Regions from separate parts of the Homo sapiens genome. Here region 1 is linked to region 2. Evidence: promoter capture Hi-C in 16 types of primary human blood cells and fetal thymus (Javierre and others, 2016). All regions are on one chromosome and are shown on one strand. Each heading gives the region's core, a stretch centred on a gene start or on the middle of the fragment in contact. The rest is flanking DNA. Distances are from core to core; before and after follow the strand shown. Region 1 overlaps PXK (PX domain containing serine/threonine kinase like). Region 2 holds the start of PXK (PX domain containing serine/threonine kinase like).

Evidence for each region. Contacts are between HindIII fragments. The CHiCAGO score rates a contact against its expected background, and 5 or more counts as called.
Region 1: a fragment that was not itself captured here is called in contact with the fragment with the promoter of PXK in region 2 in 3 of 17 cell types (total B cells, naive B cells and neutrophils); the score reaches 9.7 in total B cells.

Annotation. Positions count from the first base shown.
Region 1 is chr3:58,375,912-58,379,667 of GRCh38, reverse strand. All of the region lies in intron 3 of PXK (PX domain containing serine/threonine kinase like), which reads right to left. It also overlaps the pseudogene WDR53P1. Among named protein-coding and RNA genes, the nearest start is that of PXK, 45 kb to the right of the region's middle. RefSeq lists a silencer at 1,585-1,812. The HindIII fragment of the contact is 5,157 bases long and covers 1-3,756 here.
Region 2 is chr3:58,330,811-58,335,020 of GRCh38, reverse strand. PXK (PX domain containing serine/threonine kinase like) reads right to left here and starts at 2,129. Exons shown (of 18, transcript NM_017771.5): 1 at 1,931-2,129. The coding sequence starts at 2,032. RefSeq lists silencers at 1,285-1,579, 1,826-2,355. The HindIII fragment of the contact is 5,516 bases long and covers 1-4,066 here.

The DNA.
Region 1 (3,756 bases), core at 761-3,260, 45 kb before region 2:
CCATTTCTTATCTCTCTGAGAAGACAAAAGATAATCTTCCTCAAGAGTCTAAAGCATTCTTCTCACTGCATACCTTCTGCTTCCTGATGGTTCCTTTTTTTCCTATTTGTTTTGGTCACTTTCAAGTTAAAAGTCTTTCTTGGTGGGAGTCAGGTATGAACAGGAACTGGGATTTAAGGGCCACACTTCAGAGGTATCCCAGGACTCCTTTTTGCCAGAATTATGGGAAGATAATGTTGTGGGATGTGAGTAGTGAAATTTAGAAAAAGCAGAGAGTCCTACAAAACATATCCACAGGAAGACAATTAAAGAGCAACTTACACCAAGTAGGTGAAACTCTAATGCTTCTGAAACAGATAAGGAAGAACACGGCAAATTTTTACCAAAGCTAAGTATTGAACATGGAGAAAAAGTAAACTAGTTCTTAGGTATAAAAATAAAGGGCTACCGCGAGCAGTGGCTCACTCCTGTAATTCCAGCACTATGGGAGGCTGAGGTGGGTGGATCACCTGAGGTCAGGAGTTCAAAACCAGCCTGGGCAACATGGTGAAACTCCGTCTCTACTAAACACACAAAAATTAGGCAGGCAAGGTGGTGGGTGCCTGTAATCCCAGCTACTCAGGAGGCTGAGGCAGGAGAATTGCTTGAACCCAGGAGGCGGAGGCTGCAGTAAGCCAAGATTGCACCACTGCCCTCCAGCCTGGGCAACAGAGCAAAACTCTGTCTCAAATACTACTACTACTAATAATAATAATAAAGGGCTACCAAAATATATATGCTAATATCTGATCAGACTAGTTATGTCTACATACTCCTTAAAAAAATGAAGTCCGGCTGGGCGCGGTGGCTCACGCCTGTAATCCCAGCACTTTGGGAGGCCGAGGCAGGCGAATCACCTGAAGTCGGGAGTTTGAGATTAGCCTGACCAACATGGAGAAACCCCATCTCTACTAAAAACACAAAAAATTAGCTGAGCATGGTGATGCATGCCTGTAATCCCAGCTACTCAGGAGGCTGAGGCAGGAGAATCGCTTGAACCTGGGAGGCAGAGGTTGCGGTGAGCTGAGATCCCACCACTGCACTCCAGCCTGGGCAACAAGAGCGAAACTTCGTCACACACACACACACACACACACACACACACACACACACACAAAAAAAAAAAAAAAAAAAAAGAAGAAAAATGAAGTCCAAATCCAATGAAAACATTTAAATAAGAAACAAAAATGAGTCCTGTAGGAGTCTGGTGACCCTTTGGTTATCAGCCCATATTCAAGAGTGGGGCACCAAAAGTTGACTGGAACCTCTGGGTGAGTGCCCTGGGATTTATCTACTGTGGGCTTTATTTTACCAGATGACCCTATGCAGCTGTTTTACTGGACAAACCTTTAGCTCTTTCCTCTTAGGCAGGACAGATTCCTCTAAAACAATCTTCTAATATCCTGCCTGAAAAGTCTGAAGCCTGACTGCCAGAATTCTGGGAGTTGAGAGGAAGAAGGAAGCTAGGGAGGGAGTGGGGTCCTCACGTATAGTACGTACATGTTTTCAAATGTGCCTGCATACCCCAGCCTAAAGACTGACCCTCTCCAGAAAATAAACTTACGGTTTTTTGCTAGAGGGAGGAGGGCAGGCATAAGTTGTACGGACATGGGAGATTTGGGGATCTGACTGCTTCTTAAACAGACTTGCAACTCCTTGACCTTCACCCCACTCTGGGGGCAGCACCTGGTACTGCCAATGCTGGAACCTTCCAGGGGTTCTGTGATATAAATTGAGACCCAATGAGATTATCTGCTTCCCATCTCAGAATTCTGCCTTCCTACATTTGCTTAATCAGTTAGCTCTCACCCACTGGATTTTCAGCTTAAAGTGTTTTATTGTGGTTTTTTCTTCTCCTGTTCTGTTTGTCCTTCAGAGTGTGTTTGTGTATATAAACAATCCACTATTATTCTAGACTGATTTCGGGAGGGAGAAAAAGTAAATACAGGTACTCAATCTACTATCATTTTCCACATTATTTAAAACTTTTAGTCTTTTCTTTCTTTTCTTTTTTTTTTTTTTTAGAAAGAGATAGGGTCTCACTATGTACTTGAACTCCTGGTTGCAAGTAATCCTCCCACCTCAGCCTGCCTCTCGAGTAGCTGGGACTGTGAGTTTATTTTTTAAACATAAAAAGCAAAGCATGAGATCGGCATTTTAATTTAATGAGCAAAGTCACTTTCAAAGAGTAGTACTATTCTAGACTTGTGCTTATATTAGAGCAGTCCAGTGGCATGTGTATTGATCGAGGGTAAGGTCTAAAGAGAAGGGCATCCTGAATTCAGAAAAGGATGTAATCTAAACCATTAAATTGGGCAAACCTAACTGTTCCATTCTGTATTTTTCAAACAACAATGATGCAGCCAAATGAAGACCTTGAACTTGATACTGGACAAGATGAAAAGGTTGGCGGATAATTCTAAATTGCCAATTTCTCAAATATAATTACGAAAATATGTCAGAGCATACACAGAGTAAATTTTCTATCACAGCATAATTCATTTCCAAATAAGAATCAAATTTCACATCATTTGCCTCATTTATACAGTTAGGCTTTATCTAATAGCAGTTTCTTTTTTAGCTGAATAAAATGCATACATATGAAGAAAGTACATCACTTAGCTATTGCACATCCAAGCCAATCACTTTATTTTTTGGTTCAAGGACATGATGAATTAAATCAAGGGTAGGCCGGGCACAGTGGCTCATGCCTGTAATCCCAGCACTTTGGGAGACCGAGGCAAGTGGACTACCTGGGGTCAGGAGTTAGATACCAGCCTAATCAACATAGCAAAACCCCATCTCTACTAAAAATACAAAAACTAGTCAGGCATGGTGGTACACGACTGTAATTTCAGCTCCTCAGGAGGCTGAGGCACAAGAATCGCTTGAACCCAGGAGGCAAAGGTTGCAGTGAGCCACGATGGCACCACTGCACTCCAGCCTGGGTAATGGAGTGAGACTCTGTCTCAAAAATAAATAAATAAATAAATAAATAATAAAGGGTAATATATTACCTAAAACACAACTGATGTATCTTCCCTGAAACTATTTTATGAAGTTGCAGAATATCATCTCATTTACGTGTGTGTATGCTAAGTTATCACTTAATGTTGTCTATAGGTTCTTACAAACTGGGACTTTAAGCAAAATGAATAACAAGACTAATTTTACCATAGGCTAATTAATTAATTTTATTTATTTATTTATTTTTAGACAGAGTTTCGCTCTTGTCACCCAGGCTGGAGTGCAATGACACAATCTTGGCTCACTGCAACCTCCGCCTCCTGGGTTCAAGTAATTCTCCTGCCTCAGCCTCCCGAGTAAGTGGGATTACAGGTGCCTGCCACCACGCCTGGCTAATTTTTGTATTTTTAGTAGAGATGGGGTTTCACCATGTTGGCCAGGCTGGTCTCAAACTCTTGATCTCAAGTGATTCACCCACCTCAGCCTCCCAAAGTGCTGGAATTACAGGCGTGAGCCACCACGCCCGGCCAGGCTAATTTATATAAACAAGAATTAACTTCCTCCAGCATATTTCTGGTCACAAAAACATCAGCAAACTTCTAAAGACCTAAAACATGTCTAATAATAAACATTGAAATAAATATTACCTATATATAATTTAAGAAAGATTAATAAAAACAAGATAATTATTATTTTGGAGGGTAGCTGTTGTTAACTTGGTGTATTTTTGCACTTAACATTCATTACTTA
Region 2 (4,210 bases), core at 880-3,379:
ACCAGCCTGGACAACATGGTGAGACGCTGTCTCTACACACACACACACACACACACACACAGACACACACACACACACACACACACACACACCCTTACAATAAAAACAGAATCCTATTACATCTTTCGCCACCTAGCTAAAGCACTGATCTCTAAGTTATTTTTTCAATGTTTACAATTACCATTTTACATAAACAGAAAAAGAGGCATAGTAAGGTTGAAGTTGGATTATTTAGTCATTTGATAAACACATTTGAAATCCTATCAAAAACCAGGGAATGAGACTCAAAAGTGAGGAAGAAGTGCCCCTCCTCTTGTAGCCTGGTGGAGACAAAAAGTAAAGAAGTAATTACAGGACAAACTAATCAAGATTAAGGTGTGGGTAGGCACATGGGCTGGGGCTGTAGAAATCATGAATGCTTCCTAGGGAAAGTAATTTGTGAGTATTTAGAAACATCTATCTCTTTATTTTCAATACAAAATAAACCTAAAGGACTCGACACTATTCCCTGAAAGGTTATAAGACTTACTTGCCAATAGTCAAGTCAAAAATCAAATTTAATAGCTGAATTACTCTTGACTCCCTATCCTAAATTTCAACCCTTATGCCATACTCCCTTTAGGCACAAATGATAGCAAGTTTAACAAATTCTGTCCTGTATGTGCCTTCTCACATGTCTACAGAATAGGATTAAAGACACACAGCGTGAAATAAATAGCCCTTTTTAAAAAGATAATAATTTTCTTAACTGGAAGTGAATGCTTTGAACAATTCAAGCCCTACAAAGCACGGCTGTCAGAAGAGGAAACTGAGGTTCAAAAAAGTCTCACTTTAATACAACAGAATAAAAGGTCTCTTTGAAGTCATCAGAAGAGCTTGAACGAAAAGAGAAACAGAAGGCTATTGTGAGCTTTAGCCTCCAGATGATGACCCCCCAAACACACTGCAATGGTAAACAAACAAGCCTCTGAGTCTGAATCTGATTCGGTGGACTGACAAAACATCACAATTGAAGGAATCTCTCTCCTCACTCATTACTTTTCCAAAAAAGTCCCACTAGCTGATAGCTCCAGGTTTCTTGCTGGTTCCTAGATTTATTGCTTGGAAATTATAATGCATAGTGGGCCTTTCAAAAAAAAAAAAAGGTACAAGCAAATGAAAACAACCACGGTTTTAAAGCCCCATAAAAGACCGTATATGTAGCAGAAATGAACCCTGCCAATGTTTACTATGAGGACCTATTACTCCTTTATGCTACTCGAGTGGATTTTAAACTCAAATGAATGCTACCACTGCCCACTAAAGAGCAAGTTAGAGAAGCACATTCATACACCTGCTTAACAGCGCCCCGACTGCCGCCCCCACCACTTCCCGGGACCAGGGCCAAGCGGCTGACCTGGAAACGGGGCTGCAGACCCCAGCCACTTACACTCTGCTGTCCCAACAAGTAGGCTCTGGAGTCACACTTCATTTGGCCCGGCACACCCTCATCCCCATCACCCAGACCCTCAGCTGCAAGGAGGAAATTACACGGCCTCAAAAAGGAAAAGGCTGGCGGCGGGCAGAAGTGGATGGTCCTGAGCGGTCTCGTTCCTGCTCCCCTAGTCCAAGGTGAGCCCGGGAATCCCGCAGCCCCCGCCCCCGCCCCCCAACTCGGAGTCGCTTTCCTGGTCGCCGCCGAGCTCCTTCCACCCCGCGGCGCCGGGAGCTGCGGTCCCCATCCTTGGCCCCTCCGGGCCTCAGCGTTCGCCTGGGCCCCAGGGGCCCTGACCCAGACCCAGCGGCGCGCCACAGCCTTCTCGGCCAGGGCCGCCCACCCTGTGGCCCGGTCTCCGTCCGACGACCCTGCCCGGCCCGCGCCAGGCAGCCCGCAGCCCCCTCGCGGCCCGGGGCCGCCCCACGCCGCCCGCCCGCCCGCTGGGCCGCGCACCGTGTGGGACTGCAGGCTCTGGCTCGCCTCGATGGCTGCTGTCAGCGGCACCGTGTCGTCCAGCAGCACCTTGCCGGCTGGCGGCTTCTCCATGAAGGCCATCCCGGGACGCCCGGCCGCCGCCGCCTAGGGACGCGAGGTAGGAACCCGAGGCGCCGACTCCCGCCGCCCGCCCGGTTCCACCGCCGCCGCTGTCAACACGCGCCGCCCCACGCGCCGCCGGGCCCGCGGGGTCCTAGCGCCGCCCTTCCCACGGCCGCCGCCCCGGAGTCCTAGCGCCGACCCAGCGCAGAACGTGTGGGGGCCGCCAGCACTGCCGCCCGCTGGCCCGCTCCTCCGCCTCGCGGCTGCCATGGGCCTGCGCTTCCCTGCTCCTCGCAGCCGCACCGCAGACCCGGTGCCCTTAGCTCCGGGCTTCGGACCAGGGAACACCACCCTAAGCCATCACTACCAGGATCCTCAGATCCAGAGACGCCTGGTCCTGAGCCCTGGGATCCAGGAATCTTCAGGGCGAGATTTCCAAACCAGGCCTCTCAGAACTGGGCTTTTCGGGGACCGTACCTCTTGAAACCCTCAGAACTGGATCTCTCTCATCCCCCAGGCCCAAGGACCCTAAAACTCAGAAAAAGGGCCTTTAGGATGGGACCCCCAGTCTGAGCCCTGCAAACCCAGAGACTTTCTGAAACAAGCCCTTCCTATTGAAACTTCACAGGGACTCTTGAACGTGGCTCCTCAGGCCTGAACACCTAAGAGCTGGACCCCATAATTGGAGGTCTTGGGCCCCAGAACCCTCAGACCCAAGCTCTAAGAACTGGAGACCCTATAAAATGGTCCAGAGACCCCTAGCCTCTACTCTTGGCCCCCACTGCGGGCTCAACCACATCCCTTAGACTTGGGAGTTTTTGATCCCACCATATGGACTAGAAGAACTTCAAACCAAGAGCCAAGCCAGAGAACCTTGGGATCAACTTCTCAGCCCTAAATCTGCCCACAGTCTGCCTGAACCCAAAGCCATAATCCTGGCACCACCTCATCCCCCCCATCTCCATATACACCTAGAAATTTCACCCACACTGCCCTCTCCTAGGGCAGCATTCCAGGATAGTGAAGAGTTAAATTTAGAATTGGAGGACCATCATCTCCATGGCTCTGGCATTTACCAGCTGTGTGATCTTCAATAAGTTACCCAACCTCTCTGAGTCCCAACTCCCCAATTTGCAAAGTGGAGATAATATTATTTGTATGAAAAGGTTAATACAAGGAATGCAGTAGACTGGGAAGGGGCTTGGCACATAGTAAAAACTCAAACGGTGGTCAGGCATGATCGCTCACGCTTGTAATCCCAGCACTTTGGGAAGCCAAGGTGGGTGGATCACCTGAGGTCAGGAATTTGAGACCAGCCTGGCCAACATGGCAAAACCCCCTCTACTAAAAATATAAAAATTAGCTGGGCATGGTGGCACGTGCCTGTAGACCCAGCTACTCTGGAGGCTGAGGCAGGAGAATTGCTTGAACCCGGGAGGGGGAGGTTGCAGTGAGCCAAGATCATACCACTACACTCCAGCCTGGGTGACAGAGTGAGACTCTGTCTCAAAAAACAAACAAAAAAACAGACAAACAAAAACACCTCAAACCGTGGTCAGGCATGATGGCTCACCTTTGTAATTCCAGCACTTTGGGAGGCTGAGGAGAGTGGATGGCTTGAGTCCAGGAGTTTAGCCTGGGCAATATGGTGAGACCCCGTCTCTACAAAAAAATTTTAAAAATACCTGGGCATGATGGCTCACACCTGTGGTCCCAACTACTCAGGAGGCTGAGGTGGGAGAGTTTTTTGAGCACAGGAGGTTGAAGCCGCAGTGAGCCATGATCATGCCACTTCACTCCAGCCTGGGTAACAGAGCAAGACCGTCTCCGGAAAAACAAAAAAAAAACAAAACAAAGTCAATATTAGTTTCCTCCTTCCCCTACAGTTGACAGAATGGAAGGTTCCTAACTCTTAAATTTGCCTCCACTAAATTTCTACACTTCAGATAAGGGAACAAAGTTCCTTGGTAATCCCACCACCACCACCAAAATTTGACATCACAGGAAAGGCCCACATCATACATAAAGGGTCCCTTCTCCAGATCTCAAGCTTATTGGGATTGGTGGGCAGCCCCGTTGAGTCAAGTAGCCATGAGATTGGTCCCAGGGGCCAAGATCTAATAGAGCGAGATGTGAAGAAGGAATCCTGGACCTTCATGATTCAGCCCTAAAATAATCAGAACTCTCCCTCCATTC